Linked DNA regions of Homo sapiens: region 1 is linked to region 2. Evidence: promoter capture Hi-C in human tissues and cell types (Jung and others, 2019). All regions are on one chromosome and are shown on one strand. The core of a region is centred on a gene start or on the middle of the fragment in contact, and the rest is flanking DNA. Distances in the headings are between cores, read along the strand shown.

Region 1 (5,265 bases), core at 824-3,323, 210 kb after region 2:
AAAATACCACGAGTATCTGTTTTGGGAGTTACAAGTAAATATTAGCAGGTGGTCGAATTTGCAAATACGGAATCTCCAAATGATGAGACCGACTGTATGTGAACAAGCAGAACTGGCAGTGCTCCCAGTGTCTAGAGAGTGCGCTCAGGGTTTCTGTCTAAGCTAAGCAAAGTCAACATAATGATTGCTTTTAGACTCTTTGAAATCAGAATTTTTATTTTTGTTTGTTTGTTTATTTTGAGACAGAGTCTCACTCTGCCACCCAGGCTGGAGTGCAGTGGCATGATCATGGCTCACTGCAGCCTCAGCCTCCCGGCTCAAGCGATTCTCCCGCTTCAGACCCCCGAGTAGCCGGGACTACAGCCATGGGCCACCACGCCTGGCTGATGCCACCACGCCTGGCTGATGCCACCACGCCTGGCTGATGTTTGGCAGTTTTAGTAGAGATAGGGTTTCCCCACGTTGCCCAGGCTGGTCTCGAACTCCTAGACTCAAGCAATCCTCCTGCTTCGGCCCCCCAAAGTGCTGGGATTACAGGCGTGAGCCACTGCGCCCAGCCTTGAAATGCTTATAACTAAGAACGAACTGAAAAAAATTAAATTTAGAAAAATAATTTCCCTAATTTTTCCTTTTTTTGTTGTTTGGTTTAAAGCATTACTAGACTTTTGTCAATATTTTTACTGTATCATGGATCCTATTACTTTATCATCTGAGGCTCATGATTTGAATATGGGGGGAAATGATTTAGCAGGCTCTTATTACCTTCTAACATGTAAAGTTTGCTATTCAGGTATCTCAAGAGTGGTCCCACCCTCTTGGTGGTATGTATTTGAGTTCACAGTATTTGTTTTATAGCAGTTTTGCAAGCACATACTGTGCCACGGATTTTCCCACATTATTTTTAGACAAGGGAACACAGCCATCAAAACTGATACCATGGCCGGGCGCAGTGGCTCACACCTGTAATCCCAGCACTTTGGCGGGGCCGAGGCGGGAGGACTGCTTGAGCCCAGGAGTTTGAGACCAGCCTGAGCAGCACGGTGAAACCCCATCTCTACTCAAAATACAAAAATTAGCCGGGTGTGGTGGTGCGCACCTATATAGCCCCAGCTACTCGGGAGGTCCAGGCTGCAGTAAGCAGCGATTGTGCCACTACACTCCAGCCACGGGCAATGGGAGAGGGACCCTGTCAAAAAAAAAAAAATGGTACCAGCCAATGCCTAATATATACTTAGGTATATACTCCACTGGAGTGTTCTTTTCACATTAAACATGTAAAAAAAAAAAAATCCTATCATGCTCAAGGAGTAAGGCATGAGGATTTCTCAGCAGATCCCATGATGGGGTGGCTGCTTGGAGGGTGACCAGATAGGAGGAGAGTGTAGATGCGAAAATATTTTGAAAACTATAAAATGCAATTTAAATGTGAACGTCATCTGCAAATCCATGAGCAAGAACAGGAGAAACATGGACAAAGGGCGCGCAGGCCACGGTGCGGGGGAGTGTGGGGTCTCAGAGCACGGGGAGCTACTCAGCGGCCTCTCGGGCGACAGGGAAGCGCACACAGATCCGCAGGGAGGGGCAGCTCACAGCGCTGACGGGCAAACAGGGAAAATCCCCAAGAAATGATGGTCTGCAGGCAGGAGGGGCCGCTGGGGGCCTGGAGGGATGAGCAGGGCAGGAATCCCAGCTTCCACACTCAAGATACCATGGTCATGGAAGAAGCGACACACCATGGCACTGCCAAGGACACACTACTAAAAATGTATTAACAGTTGCACTTGTTTTAAAATTATCAGAAACAATTCAAACTTGCTTTAAATCAGGGGTGTGCACTCTTGTGGCTTCCCTGAGCCACAGTGGAAGAAGAATTGTCTTGGGCCACACATAAAATACACTAACATTAACGATCGCTGATGAGCTAGAAGGAAAAAGATTGCAAAAAAAACTCAACATATGTTTTAAGAAAGTTTACAAATTTGTGTTGGGCCTCATTCAAAGCCGTCCTGGGCCACGTACAGCCTGCAGGCCACAGGTTGGACAAGCTTGCTCTAAGTGAGAGGAATAATGTGTGACGAGTGGACACTGAGTTTTGCTGGGCCCTGGTCTCTGCCACCTGGCACGTGGGGACAGGTGGATAACACTGAAGTCACTGCAGAGGCAGCTGTCTCCTCTTTTGCTCCAAAAGAGACCCAGTAACCACTGTGCCACCAGGAAACACCAGGGTTCCCAGGAAACACTGCAGGTTCATTTTAAGGCCCTGGTCCCTGGGAACCTTAGTGCTGCAGTACAGGATGGAAGACATCGTTCCCAGCCTGGGCAGCGTGGCAAAACCTCATCTCTACAAAAAATACAAAATTAGCCAGGCATGGTAGCATGCACCTGTAGTCCCAGTTACTCAGGAGACCGAGGTGGATCCCTTGAGCCCAGAAGGTCGAGGCTGCAGTGAGCCATGACTGAACCACTGCACTCCAGCCTGGGCAACAGAGCAAGACCCTGTCTCAAAAAAGAAAAAAAAGAAGGAAATTGTTCCCAAAGTGTGTGAAGCCTGTAATAAGCAGGCAGAGACCACAATGGCTCCACTTCACAGAACTGACGTCGATTTTTATTATTTTATTATTATTATTATTTGTCTGTTTGAGACAGGGTATGGCTCTGTCACCCAGGCTGGAGTGCAGTGGCGCGATCTTGGCTCACTGCAGCCTCGACCTCCCAGGCTCAGCGATCCTACCACCTCAGCTTCCCAAGTAACTGGGACTACAGGCACGCTCCACCATGCCCGGCTAATTTTTGTAGTTTTTGTAGAGATGGGGTCTCACTCTGTTGCCCAGGCTGGTCTCAAACTCCTGGGCTCAAGGCAATCCACCCACCTCAGCCTCCCAAAGTGCTGAGATTAGAGGTGTGAGCCCCTGCAATCTATTTTTAGATGGGGGCCTGAAATCTGTTTTTAGATGAGAAAGTCAAAGCCATTATCTTCTCCTTCAATAAGGACGTGTAAGTAGAAGTTTGGAACAAGCTTACATTTAATTTGAAAACTCCAGGTGAAAGTTAAGACCCCCTGTTTACAGAAACCGAGTGAGGCTGTGGAATAGCTTGTATCCTACTGTCGAATATGGATGAACACACTTGGGTTTCAGAAATCACGTGAATTCAGAGGCTTCTTTCCTGACGCTTCGTGTACTCACCACTTTTGCAGTGCCCACTTTAAAGGAGTGCTGGTGGATGGTCCATGAAGAAGCATTGAACACGGTCACCTTGCCTTCGCTCAGAGCACACCATAACTTGGGGTGAGCATCTTCAACTTTTTCGGCTGGGTCAAGATGCCCTAAAGAGGAGAGCAGCACAAAACTGTTAGGAGGAAACACTTCTGCTGTAGCAGCAGGTGACTGGTGCCCTTACTCAGGTGCCTCCTGGGCCCTCCTAAGCGCCAGGCCCATGTTAGGTGCTGTACGTACAAAGACGTGCCCAGGCAGAGGCTTCCCTGCCCTCTGGGAGCTCAGAGTCAAGGGGGGCAGCTGGCTGGTGAGAGGGCCACAAAGACAGGGTCAGAGCCGCAGGCAGATGCAGAGCCGAATGCCTGTGAGCTTTGCTAAGCCAGGACCTGCCAGCTGAGTGAGCATTCACTAGAGGAAACAGCCAGGCAGAGGGAACTGGAAGAGGAGCAGGTGGACACAGAGGGAGGGAGGCAGGGAGGGAGGGCAGCTGGAGAGACGGCGGCAGGGGCCATGGTGCCCCCCACACCCTCATGTGCAGCGGGCTCCGCGTCTTTCCCAACACTTGCTGGCGTCCGTCCATCTTTTTAATTTCGGCCATTCTAAGGGTGTGGAGCTTTTGGCTTTTAAATTGTGGTTTAATTGCATTTCTCTAATTGCTAATGAGCCTGATGGCTTGAACTGGCCATCCCCATGCCCTCTTGTGGGAAGTGTCTGTTTTTCGTTCTCCCTAGTTTGTGGCTGTTATTTTTTTTTATTTTTATTTTTTTTTACTTTTTAATAGACGAGGTCTTGCCATGTTGCCCGGGCTGGAGTGCAGCAGTGTTCACAGGTGCGATCACAGCAAACCACAGGCTCCGAGTCCAGGGCTCTGGCCACCCTCCCACCTCACTGGGACCACAGGCACGCCCGGCCAGCTGTTCCGGTGTTCTGGATATGAGCCCCTAACTGACTCCATGGTGCTGTATTCATAAATTACGTATGACATATAAAAATACCATAAAGCAAAAGACTGGTGAATCTGACTACATTAAAAGCAATGATTTTAGCAGCACCCATTTTAAAGATCCTTCCCAGTCTGCAGCTTACATTTTCACCCTCTCAAAAGTGTCTTCTGTCCATTTCCTGTGGCAGGGTCTGGGGAAGAGGCTGTAGGCGCCGTGTCCGGCCATGAAGATGGCAAGAAGCCTCTGAGACAGCCCAAGAAGCAGGCCCAGGAGAGGGACAGAGATGATGAGGCTTCCAGCAGAAAGCAAAACAGACCAGAACCTCAAGGGGCCGAAAGCACAGGCCGCAGGGAGGCCCAGCCACAGCTGGAACTAAGACCCCTGGCGGAAAGCACGCTGCTCCCTCTGCCTGGGCGGTGGCGGCCTGGACTCCACTCCTGTTTCAACACCTGCACCCCCGCCAGGACAGCTTTTGCCATCTTCAGCTAGAGTGAGCGTTGCCCTGGAGCCTGTTGCACTTTCAAGCATAAACTTTTCTTTTTTTTTTTAAATTAAAAAAAAAAAAAAACAAAACAAAAAACTGACAGTGTCACCGGACGTCTTCAGTGGCTTCTCACCCGTCATTCCCACCTGAGCCTGCCAGAGGGCGCTCTTTGGTCTTCTACCCTCAATTTTGTGTCACCGTGAATTAAACCAGCTCATTTGAAAGGAGGAAAAAAAAAGTGTCTTCTTTTTAAAATCATTGCTTTTGGCCAGTTGTGGTGGCTCACGCCTCTAACCCAGCGCTTTGGAGTCCAAAACCGGCAGACTGCTCAAGCTCAGGAGTTCAAGACCAGCCTGAGCAATACGGCAAAACTCCATCTCTACAAAAAAAAAAAAAAAAAATACAAAAATTGGCTGGGCATAGTGGTGTGCACCTGCAGTCCAGCTAATCAGGAGGCCGAGGGCGGAGGATCGCTAGAGCCCAGGAGGCAGAGGTTGCAGTGAGGTGTGATCGCGCCACTGCACCTGGGTGACAGAGTCAGACCCTGTCTCAGAAAAAATAAAAATAATAAAGTCATTGCTTTTAATATAGTCAAATTCAACATTCTTTTCCTTTATGGTAT
Region 2 (4,958 bases), core at 1,136-3,635:
CTGGGGTGGTCTGGGACAGTGACCATCTGGTTACAGCCTTTGGTCAGATTTGGGACCTTCATGGAACAAGGCAAGCCCAAGGTCTTGGGGGGCGAAAAATCACCACTATCTGCCAGCCCCAGGCCCAGGAGCTCCCAGCTCAGCCCCTCTGGCCAAATGCCACCTGGACACCAGCCTGGTACACTTTCCACTTAACTCACCCTTTCGCCAGGACCTGCCAACCAGGGAGAGGCCTCCCCAAGCTGTATCACCGCCATCTGGATGTAAGTCCCTAAGGAGGTCACGTGCATAGGCATTGGGCACCAGCGGACACTCTGCCCACCCTGGCGGTGAGAGGGAGGGCTCACACCAGCTTATGCCCCCCTCTCAGTCTGACTGTGTGCACCTCTGCCCAAGTCCTCAGCCAGTAAAGTCACGTCTGTGTAGCTTGGGAGTAGTTACACCACAGAAATTGGCCAATGCCAATTCAGGATTTGGTTAAGCATCTGTTAAGCATGCCCTCATGTCATCTTTGAGCCCAGCCACCCATGGTGCCTCCAAGACCTCCTCGCCATCCAAACTGCCCACTTGTCTGAGAAAGCTGCCCACCTCCCGGCCTTCCTCCTGCCTCCCATGTCCAGTGCCTGACTGCATCAGCCAGCCACCCTCACCATGTTCTGGGCTGTTACTTGGGACAGAGAGGGGACCAGCTGAGGCCCCCAGCCTTACTCCAGTGGTCAGCGCAAGCTTCCGGGAGGAGGGCAAAGGCAGAGAGGAGCAGGCAGCTGAGGAAACCACCTGGAGGCTGCATCTCATCCCCGCCTGCATTTTCTCCCATCACGCCGACTGCCTGCGGGGGCCTGTCCGCAACCTGCCCCGCTCAGCCAGCCAGCCATGCCCCATCTCCAGGTCCAGCATTGGGCCTGGCACAGAGTAAGTGCTTGGAGAACACGTTGGGGGTGTTGAGGGGTGACCAGCTCCCTAGCGGGGCTATTTGGAAACAGCCCAGGAATTCCTACACAGGGCAGCTTCTCCTCCTTCGTAACCACAGTGAGGGGGGCCGGCGTGGTGATGGGGAGATCCCCAATGCCTAATTCCACTCAGGTGACAGGTTCGGGGCCCATTTACAGCAGCTCCAACGCCCCCTTTGCAGATGGGGACAACAAGGCTCTGCTTAGCCCCGCAGGCTAGGGGCTGCACCAACTCCACCTTTGTGGGCCTCAGTCTCCTCATCTGAGAAATGGGGTTAACGAACTTCTTGGGAGGATTGCAGGAACTCAGTGAAGCACGGCTCTGCACAGGGCTGCCAGGCGGCTTCTGTCTGTGCAAGGCCACAGGCACCCTGTGTTCAGTGACCTCCTCTGGTCTGCAGCCGAGGACACTGCTCCAACCTGGGAGCAGGGCCCCCAGGGTCCACAGACTAGGTGGATGCCCAACACCCACCATCGTGTGCGGGGCACACCCCAGAGCCCGCAGGCAGAGAGAGGGGGTGCAGCACGTGCCTTTCTGTCTTGGCTGAGGGTGCCCGGGCACACACTGTGACCAGCTAGCCTGGACCTCACGCTGCCCTTGGAGCCGCTATCACAGAGGGCCAGGGAAGCCTCCCTCATAAAGGGCTTCCCTCCGGGAACCGGCAGGGTGAAACTGCTCTGCCCACTTGGAGCTAAGCATGCCACCACCCCACCCCTGGGCCACCAGCTGCCCAGGGGCGTGTCAGGAGTCACCCGTTTAATCCCTGAGGCACGTGGATCAAGGCTGCTGACCTGATTCTACCGGGGTGTGCTTGGAGGGCTGAGGCGCCGCCCGAGTCCCAACACTGGTATGGTCTGAGGCGGACTCCACCCGGCCTGAGACCTGACGCTCTGCTTTCCCCTGACCTCCACTGACATCTACGACCCGCCCTGGAGGCACGGAAGGCTGTGGGGTTCCAGCCCCCCAAACTGTGCAGCTGAGGAAAATGAGCCGTGAATGGGGGCAGAGCCAGATCCTGGGCGGGACCCTGCGCAGGATGAACTCAGGGTAGGAGGTCTCCCGCGCACCCAGAAACGGGAGCGGGTCACCCCCTTCCAGCCAGGGGTGTTCTGTGGCTCGCCTGGGGAAACAGCGGCCTCCTGAGGCTCGGCCCCGGCACGTGGCAGCCTCCAGGCCCACGTTCCCGCCGGATCGGCCGCCAGGCGCAGGGTCCCGGGACGCGCGGGCAGGGGGAAGGCGGCGGCCCTCCCGGCTGCGCGGCCCCGAAGCCGTGCCCGGAGCGGGCGGCGGGCTCGCGCGCGGACGGCCCCCCACGCGCCTCCACAAAGCGCCGCGCGCCCCCGCCCCGAGCGGGCGCGGAGGAGACTGACCTGGCGGTCCGGGCGGCGCCGGCACGACGGGTGGAGGGCTCGGGACGCGCGCGCCCTCGCGCACAGGCGCGGCCGCGGCTCCACCGGCTTAGGGCGCGCGCCGGACCCGCTGGGTCACGTGGGGGCACGGCCCAATGGGAGCGCTCCCCACGCCGCGGCCGCGCGCCCGCCGCCCCCGAGGCCGCCCCTGGGCTGGGAGGAGGCGGCTCCGGTCGCGCGGGCGGCCTCGGGGACTGACCTTGGCTCCTGTGCCTGCCGGGCGCCTAGGCCAGGTCGGCCTGGGGCAGGCGGGCGTCGGAGGGGCAGTTTTGAAGCCCGAGCGAAGAGGCAGAGGGCGGGATGCGGACGAAGCCAGGGAGTTCACGAAACTTCTGGAGTTCTCAGTTTCCCCCTAAGTCGACTGGGGCTAGGTCCCGTGCCGCCAGGCGGGCTGGCTGAGGGGATGGGCTGGGGCGACAAGACGGCAGCCGCCTGGCCCGGGTACTTGGGGTCAGACCGGCTTCGAGGCCCCCGGACCGCCGTGTTATCAGGACGGGTAGGGAGCCCACGGGACGCGTGGTGCTCAGAAGAGCGGGGAGGCGTGTGGACGGGGCCTGCCCGAGCTGCACCACCGCCTGCCTCCAGGCTGCGAGGCCCGCCCAGGCGAAGGCGGCATCTCAGCCTCTAGCCCTTGGGGACCTTGAGGACGTCCTCTTATGGGTCAGCCGTTCCTAGGGAGGCTTGTGGCTCCAGTTACTGGAAAAACCAGTGCTGGTTCACGCAGGAGGCCCCAGTACAGGGGGAAACAGAGGCAAGCTGGGGTCTCCCAGGCGGCCTCACCCACCCAGCCCTGTTCCATGCCAGTCCCTGGACCCTTGGCCCAGTCAGATGTTCAACTGCTCCAGCCCTGCCTCCACTTCCCTGAAAGATGCTTTTCCACCCATCCACCCTCAGCAGCCAGAGGGACCCCGGGAAGATGGGAGTGAGAGCTGCCTTCGTCTGCAAAAGTCTCCAGACACCACCTCACTGGTGAAGGCCAGAGACCCTAAACTGTCCCAAGACCACCTGACTGGGCTGCCTCCCTGCCACCTGGCTGCCAGCCTCTCTCAGAGCGCCTGCAAGCTATTCCTCCAACCCAGAGTTTCCTTCCCAGCTAAAGGCCTTTGCACCTGCTGTTCCTTCTGCCTGGAAGTTCACCGCAGACTATCCCAGGGCCTCCATCCTTCCCATTGCATGGTCCCCATCAGCTGCCGCCGCCTCTGAGAGCTCAGTCTCCACTGGCCATCCTGTCTCTCAGCCCACTGCACTCTCCACTCTGCCAGAAAGTCCCCCAATCAGTGACAACACAGGTCACGGTCCACACCTCACCTGGTTTGTCCCCAGTGCCCAGCATCTGGCACCGAGCAGGTGCGTGCAAATCCTGGACAGGTGGGCAAGCTGATGGTGTCCAGAGGCCCCTGGTCCTTAAGGGCAGGGGTGGGGATGGCTCAGAGGACATAACCTTGCAGACCCGGGTTCAAATCTGGGCTCCTCAGCTCATTTGGTCCTCACACAGCCCATGTTGGGAGAGCTAGTGTTCTCCCTGTTTTGCTGATGAGACACAGAGAAGGTCAGCAACTCCCGAAGATTGCCCAGCAAGTTGGGAGTAAAGCTGGTGCAATTCCCACGTTTAGCTGCTAAACAGGGTGTCCTGTACTTGGTGTGTTCAAGCAGAAATCCACACATGGGAAGGTCAAGGCAACATCCCTGGTACTCCAGCTTTGAGGTCCTAGGAAAAAGGGAACCTCCCATTAAATGCTTCTATTGCCGGGAAGTTCAGCACCTGTAAAAGCAGCCCCTTCCCGTTTCACTGTGGCTGCATTTTAATTCTTATTTTTTAAATGTTTAGCTTAAGGCCGGGCACAGTGACTCACACTATAATCCCAGCAATTTGGGAGGCTGAGGCGGGAGGATCACTTGAGCCTAGGAATTCAAGACCAGCCTAGGTAACATAGTGGGACCCTATCTCTACAAAAAATAAAAAATTAGCCAGTCATGGTGGCATGCTCCTATAGTCCCAGCTTGGAGATTGAGGTGGGAGGATCACCTGAGCCTAAGAGGACAAGGCTAGAGTAAGCCCTGATCCCGCCAGCACCCCAGCCTAAGTGAAAGAGCGAGAGCCTGTCTCAAAAAAGATAAAAAAAAAAAAAGCATTAATAAATAAATGTTTGGCTTCATCTAGCCTGAGCAGCACCAACACCCCCTGCCTGTTTCATGCTATTTTCCTCCTCTCCTGCCCAAAATCTCAGAGAGGTTTCTATCCCAGCCACCCAAATTTGCTGGGGTGAGTGGGCTCCCGAGAGGCTGGAGCCTCCTTCCTCCCCACGCTCTTACCATCCTGCAGGGAGTCGGGAGCAAAGGAGGAGGCTCCTCCATGCTGGATTCATTTCAGTTCTCAGACATTCACCGAGTGCTGACCACATGCCAGGGACTTACACCCACCCACCAAGTCCACACTGAGCCCTGCAGAGGAATCCCTGACACCCCCATTTTGCAGATTAGGAAGCAGAAGCTAAGCGAAAGCAGAATCAAGATTCAAACCCAGGCACGGTGAAACCAGAGCTGTCCAACTGCTGTGAGTGGAATGGGCCGGGCATGAACAGGCTTGGGGAGAATCCT

What was found. Contacts are between HindIII fragments. The study calls those that stand out against the background at their distance.
Region 1: a fragment that was not itself captured here is called in contact with the fragment with the promoter of PTP4A3 in region 2 in 1 of the 25 tissues and cell types used here (H1 embryonic stem cells).

Annotation. Positions count from the first base shown.
Region 1 is chr8:141,183,199-141,188,463 of GRCh38, reverse strand. DENND3 (DENN domain containing 3) reads right to left here. Exons shown (of 23, transcript NM_001352890.3): 18 at 3,186-3,325. Among named protein-coding and RNA genes, the nearest start is that of DENND3-AS1, 56 kb to the right of the region's middle. RefSeq lists enhancers at 3,108-4,062, 4,763-4,902, 4,983-5,032. The HindIII fragment of the contact is 5,635 bases long and covers 1-4,890 here.
Region 2 is chr8:141,389,448-141,394,405 of GRCh38, reverse strand. PTP4A3 (protein tyrosine phosphatase 4A3) reads right to left here and starts at 2,385. Exons shown (of 6, transcript NM_032611.3): 1 at 2,322-2,385. It overlaps ASTILCS (antisense transcript of PTP4A3, liver carcinoma survival associated), which reads left to right and starts at 1,785. Exons shown (of 2, transcript NR_187488.1): 1 at 1,785-1,998; 2 at 3,255-4,538. RefSeq lists an enhancer at 2,693-3,313. The HindIII fragment of the contact is 9,767 bases long and covers 234-4,958 here.